Regions from separate parts of the Homo sapiens genome. Here regions 1 and 3 are each linked to region 2. The links are contacts of gene promoters, found by promoter capture Hi-C in human tissues and cell types (Jung and others, 2019). All regions are on one chromosome and are shown on one strand. The core of a region is centred on a gene start or on the middle of the fragment in contact, and the rest is flanking DNA. Distances in the headings are between cores, read along the strand shown. Region 1 has its middle 100 kb from the start of CARTPT. Region 2 holds the start of MAP1B (microtubule associated protein 1B). Region 3 has its middle 35 kb from the start of CARTPT.

Evidence for each region. Contacts are between HindIII fragments. The study calls those that stand out against the background at their distance.
Region 1: a fragment that was not itself captured here is called in contact with the fragment with the promoter of MAP1B in region 2 in 1 of the 25 tissues and cell types used here (dorsolateral prefrontal cortex).
Region 3: a fragment that was not itself captured here is called in contact with the fragment with the promoter of MAP1B in region 2 in 1 of the 25 tissues and cell types used here (lymphoblastoid cells).

What each region holds. Positions count from the first base shown.
Region 1 is chr5:71,818,856-71,822,831 of GRCh38, reverse strand. No RefSeq gene overlaps it. Among named protein-coding and RNA genes, the nearest start is that of CARTPT, 100 kb to the right of the region's middle. The HindIII fragment of the contact is 3,769 bases long and covers 1-3,160 here.
Region 2 is chr5:72,104,912-72,108,896 of GRCh38, reverse strand. It overlaps MAP1B (microtubule associated protein 1B), which reads right to left and starts at 1,422. Exons shown (of 7, transcript NM_005909.5): 1 at 1,182-1,422. The coding sequence starts at 1,365. It overlaps LOC105379028 (a long non-coding RNA gene), which reads left to right. Exons shown (of 3, transcript XR_007058813.1): 1 at 1-122; 2 at 910-972. RefSeq lists enhancers at 1-115, 521-1,503. The HindIII fragment of the contact is 7,344 bases long and covers 1-2,825 here.
Region 3 is chr5:71,682,361-71,686,532 of GRCh38, reverse strand. No RefSeq gene overlaps it. Among named protein-coding and RNA genes, the nearest start is that of CARTPT, 35 kb to the left of the region's middle. The HindIII fragment of the contact is 4,509 bases long and covers 1-3,722 here.

The sequences.
Region 1 (3,976 bases), core at 27-2,526, 290 kb after region 2:
GCAAACTACCCATCTGACAAGGGATTAATATCCAGAATATATAAGGAGCTCAAACAACTCTATGGAAAAAATCTAATAATCCAATTAAAAATGGGCAAAAGATCTGAATAGAAATTTCTCAAAAGAAGACATATAAATTGTAAACAGGTATTTAAAAAGGTGTTCAACATCATTGATCATCAGAGAAATGCAAATCAAAACTATAATGAGATATCATCTCACCCCAGTTAAAATGGCTTTTATCCAATAGACAGGCAATAACAAATGCTGGTGAGGATGTGAAGAAAAGGGAACCCTTGTACACTGTAGATGTGAATGTAAATTAGTACAAACACTATGGAGAACAATTTGGAGGTTCCTCAAAAAACTAAAAATTGATCTACCATATGATCCAGCAATACCACAGTTGGGTAATGCCCAAAAGAAAGAAAATCAGTACATCAAAGAGATATCTGCACTCCTACATTTGTTGCAGCATTGTTTACAATAGCTAAGATTTGGAAGCAACCTAACTGTCCATCAACAGATGAATGGATAAAGACAATGTGGTACATATACACAATGGAGTACTATTCAGCCAGAAAAAGGATGAGATCCAGTCATTTGCAACAACATGGATGGAGATCATTATGTTAAGTGAAATAAGCCAGGAACAGAAAGACAAACATCACATGTTCTCACTTATTTGTGGGATTTAAAAATTAAAACAATTGAACTCATGGAGATAGAGAGTAGAAGGATGGTTACCAGAGGCTGAGAAGGGTAGTGGGAGGCTGGGGGATACTTGCAGATGTTTAATGGGTGCCAAAAATTAGTTAGAAAGAATGAGACCTACTATTTGATAGCACAACAGAGTGACTAAAATCAATAATAACTTACTTGCACATTTTTAAATAACTCAAAGCATGTAATTGTATTGTTTGTAACTCAAAGGATAAATGCTTAAGGGGATGAATACCCCATTCTCCATGATGTGCTTATTTCACGTTGCATGCCTGTATCAAAACATCACATATGCCCCTAAATATATATTCCCACTATGTACCCACAAAAATTAAAATGTTTTAAAAAATGAATCAAAGACATAAATGTAAGTCCCAAAAATATAAAACTACTAGAAGAAAACAGGGAAAACACTTCAGGACATTGGTTTGGGCAAAGATTTTATGAATAAGACCTCAAAAGCATGGCAATAAAAGCAAAAATAAACAAATGGGATTATATCAAACTAAAAAGCTTCTGCACAATGACAGGAACAATCGACAGAGTGAAAAAACAACCTAAAGAATGGGAGAAATTATGTGCAAACTGTGCATCCAACAGATGATTAATATCCACAATATACAAGGAGCTCAAACAACTCAACAACAACAACAAAAATCTGATTTTAAAATGGGCAAATGATCTGAGTAGACATTTCTCAAAAGAAGACATACAAATGGCCAACAAATATATATAAAAGTGCTCAACATCACTAATCATCAGGGAAATGCAAGTGAAAACTGCAAAGAGGTATGATCTCACCCCAGTTAAGATGGCTATAATCAAAAAGAGAAAAAATAACAAGTGCTGGTGAAGAAACAAGGAAAAGAGAACTCTTACACATTGTTAGTGGGAATGTAAATTAGTACAGCCACAGGGAGGACAGTATAGAGGTCCCTTTAAAAAAAACTACAAATAGAACTACCATATAATCTAACAATCCCACTATTGGGCATTTAGCCAAAGGAAGGGAAATCAGAATATCGAAGAGACTTCTGTGTTTACTGCAGCACTATTCACAGTAGCCAAGATATGGAATCAACCTAGGTGTCCAACAACTGACGATACAGAAAATGTGGTGTATATACACATGGAATACTATTCAGCCACAAAAAAAAAGAGAGTGAAATCCTGTCATTTACAGCAACATGGATAGAGCTGGAAGACATTAAGTGAAATAAGCCAGGAAAGGCAAGAAACATCGCATGTCCTCACTCACATGTGGAAGCTGAAAACGTTGATTTCATAGAAGTAAAAGTAGACCAGAGGATACCAGAGGCTGGGAAGGGGAAGGGGAAAGGGAAAGGGATAGGGTGATTTTTTTTTTTAAAGGATACAAAATTTACATCTAGATAGCTGAATAAGTTCTAAAGTTCAATAACTCCGCAAAATGACTGTAGTTAACCATAATATATTATATACTTTCAAATAGCTGGAAGGAAGAATGTTCCCAACACAAAGAAATGACAAATGTTTGTGATCGTGGATATGCTAATTACCCTAATCTGATCAGTATACATTATATGTATTGAAACAGCACTAGGTACTCAATAAATATGAACCGTTATTACATGTCAATTAAAAAATAAAAAATCTTCTACACAAATATCAGTGTTTTGTCTATCATTTATTTTATAAATGTTTCCCAATTTCCATTTTGTTTGCAACGTTTTACAACACCAAATATTTCTAATCTTTATGTATTTAAATCTACTGTTCTTCTTCTTTGTTTTCTTCCTTACATAGTCTTTTCTCTTCCTCACCTCAAGATTATATAATATTTATATAATTTTACCTTTTCTTATGGTTTCATATTTATATATGCTTAATTCTTAAACAGTTAAGAATTCATTTTGGAGTAAGTCATAGGATAGGAAAGCTAACTTAATTGTTTCCCAGGTGATTAGTCAGTCACTGAAAAGTCATTCATGGGACTGTCTACCTTTTCCTCTCTAATTTGAAATGGAAACTTTGTTACATACTAACTTTTAAATATATGCATAAGGTCTATTTATAGACTTTGAAGGTTTTCCCACTTTTTTCTTTTTGTCTATCCATCAGTAAAAATATTTAAACCATGTTGACCTTATAAATTTGTTCTGACATCTGGTGGTAATAGATACCCCATGATTCTTATTTTAACATTTGTTATTACTGTTCTCATTGTTTATACTCCCAGATAAACTGGAGGATCATTTTTAGGTTACAAAAATATGTTTGAATTTTGACTGGAACTGTGTAAAAATTTTTTAATTAATTGTGGGAGAATTGCTATCTCTCCAATAGTGATACTCACCATCCAAAAATAGTACCCCATTTGTCTTAGCTGCTCTCAAATGTCTGCAGTTTCCCTTATAAAAATACTTTGGCCCTTGTGAGGTTTTTCTCCCTCCATTTATTTTATATTTTAGATGGCTATTGCAATGGATAAGGAAATTGTTGATTTGGCCATTCTCTTTTTAATTTTATACAGTTTTTCATTGATTTTTTTTTAATTTTTTTCCAGGTGGCCAACTACATAACCCATAAATAATGATAATTTTGTATCTTCTTTTCCAGTATTTGACCTCACATATTTTTTTATGTCTAATTGTTTTTTATAATTTCCAGAATAATGTTGAACAATAATGGTTAGCTTTCTTGCTCCTTTTTAAATTTTCATAGGAATAATAATAGCTAATTTTTTTTTTTTTTTTAGTTGAGATAGGGTTTCACTGTGTTGGCCAGGCTGGTCTCAAACTTCTGACCACAAGTGATCCTCCCGCCTTGGCCTCCCAAAGTGCTGGGATTACAGGCGTGAGCCACTGTGCCTGGCCTGGTAATAGCTAATATTCTTTAAGGGTTTATGATATGTGAGGCACTGTTCTGAGCAACTTAATGATTCACCTATTGAATCCATCCAACAGCTCTTTGAGGTAGCTACTATCAATATTCCCATTTTACAGAAAGAGAAAGTGAGACACAGAGATGCTGAGTAACTTGCCCAAGGTCATCCTGTAAGTAACTGACAGAGCCAAGATTTCAATCAAGGCATTCTGATGAGTAGGTTGGTGATGATGACCTGGTAACTCTCTCTAGCAATGGATTGAATCCTTAGCAGTACCTTTAGTTCTCATACTGCTAATGCCAGCCTGCAGAAAACAGCCACCCCTAGGCTCCCCAGTGTCAGTGAGGATGATGAGATTCCAAAAGAGCTCAAGTCAGGTAGCAACAC
Region 2 (3,985 bases), core at 173-2,672:
GGACCCGGCGACCTCTGTCAGGAGCGAGGGGAGGGCCGGGACGCCAGGGATAAAGGGAAAGGCAGAGACCAGAGCTGCCCACCCAGGGACTCCCAGGGCAACAAAGCCAGGCAAACTGAGAGGTGGGGGCGCGCGGCCCCCGCCAGCCCGAGGCCCGGGCGGAGCGCAAGCCCAGCCAGCCGTGCCCGACGGGGGCGCCGCAGTGTGGGGGGGCAGGTGTGGCGGGCGGTCCGGAGGCACTGCGGCAGCTCGGGTGGGGCTGGGGGCGGTCTCTCTGTGCGCCCGAGGCTGTGCCCGCCGGACCCTCACGGCCCCGCCCAGGGTCCCCGGCGTACCGCTATTCGGCCTCCGCAGAGCGCGCCACTGGTGCGAGCACCGGGCGAGGAGCTGACCCTACCCGCTGACGTCTCCCTCACCGACCCCCTTCAAGCTACCACTCCCGAGGCTGGGACTTCTAAAAGCAGCAGCCCCACCCCGCAACTTGGGGTCCCATTGTCCTTTCTGAGAGCTGCAGCCAAGGCCCCAAGGGCGGTAGCGAGGCGGGCTCTGTCTGGTGGCGAAGCGCAGGCGGTTCTGCATCCCAGCATCTCCCCGGGGAGGGGGGGGCGGGGGGAGCGGGCGTGGCCCTAGGACTAGCCTAGTCATTCTGAGGAAAGAAAGGATCGGGAGGTTTGAAATCAGAAAAGGCGTTTCTCAGGGGCTGAGGTAGCCGTGGTGAGGATGAATCCCACGCGGGCCCTGGCACATGGGCTTCGGCCCCAGGTCTGCGGTGGTGGGGGTCCCAGCCTTTTCCTGAGGCCAGAAGAGGACTGAAAGGAGTGGTTGCATCAGGTCTCCCCCACCCTTCTGCCTCCTGCGGTTGCGGCTTTATTGTGGCCTCTGCTCCCCTGACACCTGCATTTCACTTAGCGGGAGAGGCGGTGGCCAACTCAGCACAGGCTGCGGACTCAGCGTGGTGACAGATCCCTCAAGGTTATTGGAGACTCTCCCTCTGGGTCTCATATCTAATAATTCGGATTATTCTTAATTAGCCCAGAAAGGGTCTGGACCAAGTATGAGAGGTGACGAGGAGAGGCATGGGTGCGGGGCGCGCGGGAGGAGCGCAGTGACCGTCGCGCCCTGGGTGGGGTCGTGTTTGCGCGTCTCCCAGCGCGCGTCTCTGGGGGCGCGGGGCCACTTACCGAGCTCGATGTTGCCGATGGCACGCCGCAGGTGCTCCTCGGTCACGATCTCGCCGACGACCACCAGCAAGTAGAACTTGCTGTCAAGGAAGCGGTGCGACAGGCTAGGCGAGGTGGACGCCGCCGGGTTGGCGATGCTGCCGGACGGCTCCGGCTCGGTGGCTTCCACCACCACGGTCGCCATCCTGCCGGCTGCTGTGCCTCGGCGAAGTGTCTCGCTCCGGCCGCTCCTCTCCACTGCGGCAGGAGAAAGGATTATCTCCGAAGGTACTGTCTCCGCTCCGCCCCCTGCGTCCCCCCTCCTCTGGCGCCGCGCGCCGCCTCCCCCTCCGCCCTCTCCCAGCGCCGCGGAGAGTGCGCGGCGGAGAGGAGCGGGGAGTGAGAGAGGGCGGGGAGGCGGCGCCGCTTTTATATGGAGACTAGGCAGGGAGCCGGGAGGAGGAGGAAGAGGAGGAGGAAAGGACCACCCGGCACATCCTCACGCGGTGGCTGCCTCCGCTCTTCCAGCCGTTGGCCCGGGGCTGATGTCATCTGCAGCAAATCATCTCGCCCGCGGCCCGGAAGCTGGAGGGACGAGGTGTGCGGACAATGGTCGGGGCAGGGCCGCGAGCCAAGGGGCTGGGGCGCCCGCTGAGCTCCTGCTGCAGCCGTGAAGGGGGAAGACGCTCTCAACCTACACCACCCACCACGTACACACCCACTGCCCACTCCTCACCCTCACCCTGTCTGTGCATGGGAATGGGATGAGTTTCCATTTTCGGAGTGGGGGTCTTTTCTCTTGTTGGAGTTGCACTAGTCAGGCCTCTGCCTTGTGTGCTGTGTATGATGTAGCCAGGTTCTCAGGAACTGGGATAGCCACAGTGGGCAGATGCGGGGCTGTGGGTACCCCGCCTAGGAAGACGGAACCTGTCTTTTCTTTGACCTTGTGGCTTTAAGAAGACGAATTTACTGATATTTACCAATATCAATATTTACCACCTTCACTTAAAGAATACATCAAAAATGCAAAACTTAAGCCTACTATTGTTCAGGCCTTGGATTCTACTCTGGCAGGGCCAAGGATGAAAAAGTACTGGCTTTGTGGTGCTCATGGGAAATGAGAGAAATGCAGATGTATTATATTAGATACCAATTTCTTTCCTTAATGTGCTGAACAGATAGTATCAGTAATAACAAAGAATAAAGAGAAGATACTGTCTCTACTCAGCAGGGTTACAGTGACTATAATGTACTTTTCAGTTCCTTGGGGAACACACAAGCAAAATTACCTCGTGACAATGATGTCTTTTAAAATACCTGTAGCATTGGGAATTTTTATTGCCTTTGTTTGTGTTTAGAAGAACTAAAAAATGTGTTTTTTGTTTTTGTTTTTTTGTTTTTTTTTTTAAGGCAGCCTATTTACAACCGTTTCTCACAAACATACTGAATATAGCTTCTGTCCCAGAAAAGGGGAGGAGGGTGAGGAAAGAGCAAAATGTGCAAACATGGTATCATAGAAGACTGGGGAATTCGAGCTTTAAGGAAGAGGAATAGATGGAAATTAGTCAACATAGCTTTAATACTAGAATGCCTGTTAGTAAAATATAGATGATAGATAGATAGATAGATAGATAGATAGATAGATAGATAGATAATCACCTAGATATTCTTAAGATTTCCAAAATAACCCAGTGTCTTAGGTGTTAGCTGCCATGACTTATTGGTCATGTACTCTTTGCTCTTATATCTTTCCTGACACCCTGGCATGGGAGACATGCTGGGCAGCCAAGGGCTGGGGGGTTCCATCCAACATGTCAATCTGATCAATGCAGAATGAAAATACCGTCTGGCCCGCAGTATTTGGGATCTGTGACAGGATCACTAGAGAGTTGCATTCACCAGTAATTAGATGAAGTGTTTCCAACTAGCTGCATTCACCAGTAACTAGATGAAGTGTTTCCAGATAATATTTTGGTTAAGATATTCAATTGCTGTTCAAGAAGTAAGGCCAGCACCAAAGCCCATAACTGGGGTGAGGGGCAGGAAATATGGTGAAGAGCACTGTTTTCTAAAGGTCATCCGTTGGATTCCAGCCTCATCTAGTTTGTGTTTGGTTTTCCTTTCTTTGAACCATTGTTACTTTTATGTATGTAATAGTTTTCTTTTATGCAGTTTATTTCTTTTACTTAAATTTATTTTTAAATGCAATTCTATGTTGCTGTATAAATGGAAACACTAATATCACTTATTAATAGAAAGTATCCCTAAAAATATACACAATGAAGATAAGATGTGATCAAATTCCTGCTACATACTGTTATGATTTGCTCAAGACTCTGAGTCCAAGGCTCTCCTTTCTTGGTTGAAAACAGAGATTGGCCAAGTGTTAGAGAGGTATTAAAGAGATACTAACACCTAACTGAGTTGTTCTCCATGTTGCAACAGAAGATTGGATGAAAATTATAACAGAGCGCTTTCTTACTGTGTGTGTCTGTGCAATTAAACACCATGACCGTGACCACCTAAGTCATCACCCACACTTTGAAAAATAGAGGCATAATGGGAGAACACAGACTAGGGATGCAGAATACTACTTTACAGCTCGGTAACTTTGGCAAGTGACTTACTCTTTTTGATCTTCCATCTCCTTATTTAATGAGAAGAAGAACATCTTTATAACTGTTAAAGTAACTGTAAGAAAGAAGGAAATGATAGAATGTGTAAGCACCTAATACAGTGGCTGGGCATAGTAAGCAATCAAGGGATGGTTGATTCATTGACCTGTTTTCTCCCAGTTACTAAGACAATGGAGCAAAAGCAGTCTT
Region 3 (4,172 bases), core at 219-2,718, 420 kb after region 2:
TGACTTTCTGTCTTGATGGCCTGTCTAGTGCTATCAGTGGAGTATTGAAGTCCCCCACTATTATCGTGTTGCTGTCTATCTCATTTCTTAGGTCTATTAGTAATTGTTTTATAAATTTGGGAGCTCCAGTGTTAGGTGCATATATGTTTAGGATTGTGATATTTTGCTGTTGGAAATATTATATAGTGACCCTCTTTGACTTTTTTAAATGCTGTTGCTTTAAAGTTTGTTTTGTCTGATATAAGAATAGCTACTCCTGCTCGCTTTCAGTGTCCATTGCATGAAATGCCTTTTTCCACCCCTTCACCTCAAGTTTATGTGAGTCCTTATGTGTTAGGTGAGTCTCTTGAAAGCAGCAGATAGTTGGTTGGTGAATTCTTATCCATTCTGCAGTTCTGCATCTTTTAAGTGGAGCATTTAGGCCATTCGCATTCAAAGTTAGTGTTGAAATGTGAGACACCATTCCATTCATCATGTTATTTGTTGCCTGTGTATCTTGGTTTTTTGTTTTTGTTTTTCAAATCATAGTTTTGTTTTATAGGTCCTGTGAGATTTATGCTTTAAATAGGTTCTGTTTTGATGTGTTTCCAGGATTTCTTTCAAGATTTAGAGCTCTTTTAGCAGTTCTTGTAGTGGTGGCTTGGTAGTAGCGAATTCTCTCAGCATTTGTCTGAAAAAGACTGTATCTTTCCCTCGTATAAGATGCTTAGTTTTGCTGGATACAAAATTTTTTGCTGGTAATTGTTTTGCTTGAGGAGCCTGAAGATAGGGCCCCAATCCCTTCTAGCTTGTAGGATTTCTGCTAAGAAATCTGCTGTTAATCTGATAGGTTTTCCTTTATAGGTTACCTTGTGCTTTTTTCTCACAGCTCTTAAGATTCTTTCCTTCATCTTAACTTTGGATAACCTGATGACAATGTGCCTAGGCAATGATCTTTTTGCAGTGAATTTCCCGTGTGTTCTTTGTGCTTCTTGTATTTGGATGTCTAGGTCTCTAGCAAGGCTGGGGAAGTTTTCCTCAATTATTCCCCTAAATATGTTTTCCAAACTTTTAGATTTCTCTTCTTCCTCAGGAACACCAATTATTCTTAGGTTTGGTCATTTAACATCCCAGACTTCTTGAAGGCTGTATTCATATTTTCTTATTCTTTCTTTTTTGTCTTTGTTGGATTGGGTTAATTCGAAGACCTTGTCTTCAAGCTCTGGATTTCTTTCTTCTAATTGTTCAATTCTATTGCTGAGACTTTCCAGAGTATTTTGCATTGCTATAAGTGTCTCCAATGTTTCCTGAAGTTTTTGTTGTTTTTTCTTTATGCTGTCTATTTCCCTGAATATTTCTCCCTTCACTTCTTATATCATTTTTTGGATTTCCTTGCATTGGGCTTCGTCTTTCTCTGGTGCCTCCATGATTAGCTTAATAACTAACCCCTGAATTCTTTTTCAGGGAAATCAGGAATTTCTTCTTGGTTTGGATCCATTGCTGGTGAGCTAGTGTGATTTTGGGGGAGTATTAAAGAGCCTTGTTTTGTCATATTACCAGAGTTGGTTTTCTGGTTCCTTCTCATTTGGGTAGGCTCTGTCAGAGGGAAGGTCTAGGGATGAAGCCTGTAATTCAGATTCTTTTGTCCCATGGATGTTCACGTGATGTGGTACTCTCTCCCTTTTCCTATCCATGTGGCTTCCTGAGAGCCAAGTTGTAGTGATTGTTATCTTTCTTCTGGATCTAGCCACCCAGCAAGTCTACCAGGCTCCAGGCTGGTACTGGGGGTTGTGTGCACAGAGTCCTGTGATGTGAACCTACTATGGGTCTCTCAGCTGTGGATACCAGCACCTGTTACAGTGAAGGTGGCAGTGGGGTGAAATGGACTCTGTGAGAGTTCTTAGCTTTGGTGGTTTAATGTTCTATTTTTGTGCTGGTTGGCCTCCTGAGGAGAGGTGGTGCTTTGCAGAGAGCATCAGCTGTGGTAGTATGGGGAGGAACCGGTGGTGGGTGGGGCCCTAGAACTCCCAAGAGTACATGACCTTTGTGTTCAGACACCAGGGTGGATAGTGAAGGGCCACCAGGTGTAGGCAGGGCTAGGCATATCTGAGCTCAGACTCTCCTTGGGCAGGTCTTGCTGTGACTATTGTGGGGGATTGGGGTGAGGTTCCCAGGTCAATGTAGTTATATACCTAGGAGGATTATGGATGCCTCTGCTGAGTCACGCAGGTTGTCAGGGAAGTGGGAGAAAGCCGGCAGTCACAGGCCTCACCCAGCTCCCATGCCATCCAAAGGGCTGGTCTCACTCCCACCATGCCCTCTCTAACAGCACTGAGCTTATTTCCAGGCAGTGGGCAAGCAGGGCTGAGAACTTGCCCCAGGCTACCCACCTCCCAGCTGGGAAAGAAAGTAGGTTTCAGTTCTTCCCCCGCCTGTGGAGTCTGCACTCCGGATTCATGCCCTCCCCTGAGATCTGGCCAGGAGGCTTCTTGACCAGTTCAAATTGTTACAAAGTTCAGCTGGAGACTTCCTTCTCCTTGTGGCATTTCCCCTATGCCTCTGACCACCCTCCCAAGGGATCCCTGTGATGCCAGGCAGGAATGGCCTGCTTGAGGACTAGTGAGCTCACAGGGCCTTTCCCACTGCTTCCTCCATCCCTGTATTTTGCTCAGCTCTCTAAATTTCCTCAGCTCTTTGTGAGGTCGAAATCTTCTCCCATAAACTAGACCTTCAGTTTCCCCAGTGAGGGTGTGTGTTTGGGGGCAGATGATCTCCCTTTCCCACTTACACAGCTTGGGCACTCACTGTATTTGGGGTGTCTCCCAGGTCCTGTAGGAGCAATCTGCTTCCTTCAGTGGGTCTGTGGGTCCTCTCAGGTTTCCTGATTTATTCCTGCAGTTGTTCTGGAGCTAAAATTCACAATGCAAGCCTCCACATGCTGCTCTGTCCCTCCAAGTTCGAGCTGCAATCTAGTCCTGCCTCCCGTCCTCCATGATGTAATCCATACTAAAAAAAAATTTTTTTTTTTTGACACAGAGTCTCACTCTGTTCCCCAGGCTGGAGTGCAATCTTGGCTCACTGCAGCCTGCAACTCCTGGGTTCAAGCGATCCTCAACATTTACTGTTAAGCAAATTTTGTTAAGCTATGCATTTTAATACTGTGAAAGGATTGGAAGAAAAAAACCAAATAGCCTGTAACAAACAAATTATGCCTTCTTATTACAATAATGATACAGATTCATTTCAGAAATTTCAGAAAATTCCAATAAGCAAAAAGAAGTACTTCATTGATACTTCATTGATATGCCACTGCTTACATGCCCATGTATATAGTGTCAAGCTTTTTCTTTCTTTCCTTCTTGGTTTTTTTGTTTGTTCGGTTGCTTGTTTGTTCTGTTGTTGTTGTTGTTGTTGTTGTTGTTGTTTTGAAACAGGGTCTTGCTCTGTCACCCAGGCTGGAGCCCAGTGGCACCACCATAGTTCACTTCAGCCTCAACCTTCTGGGCCCAAGCAATCCTCCTACCTCAGTCCCACCCCCCCACCACCACCCCCCACGTAGCTGGAACCACAGGTGCACGCCACCACACTCAGCTATTTTTTTGTATTTTTGTAGAGACAAGGTTTCACCATGTTGCCCAGGCTGGTTTCAAACTTCTGGGCTCAAGTGATCCTCCTGCCTCAATCTCCCAAAATGCTAGGATTATAGGCATGAGCCACTGCACTTGGCCAGGCTTTTCTGTCATTAAATATACATATATAACTTCTGTAGAAGAAATAGCGTTATACTATATATCCAGCTCCATAAACTACTGTTTTCCACTTGATGTACAGTAAATGCCTTTAAATATACTTCTGAAATATTATAAACAGTTGCAAATATATAAATATAAAATGTATATACAAACATTATATATAACATATAAATATATTTTATTCTATTGATACACATATTGAACCAACTATTATTGCCCCCACCTAAAAAAGAAGGTGACATTTTCAGGAAAATGAAAGTGGAGAGAACTTGCTGCTAGCAGATCCACATCACCAAAAAACAAAACTGTTAAAGGAAGTTCTTTTGGCTGAAGAAAAATTATTCCAGATGGAAACTCAGATCTAAACAAAGGAATGAAGAGCATCAGATGGAAGCTTTGGGGGTAAATATAAAATACTTTTTTGTTGTTATTTTATAAAAT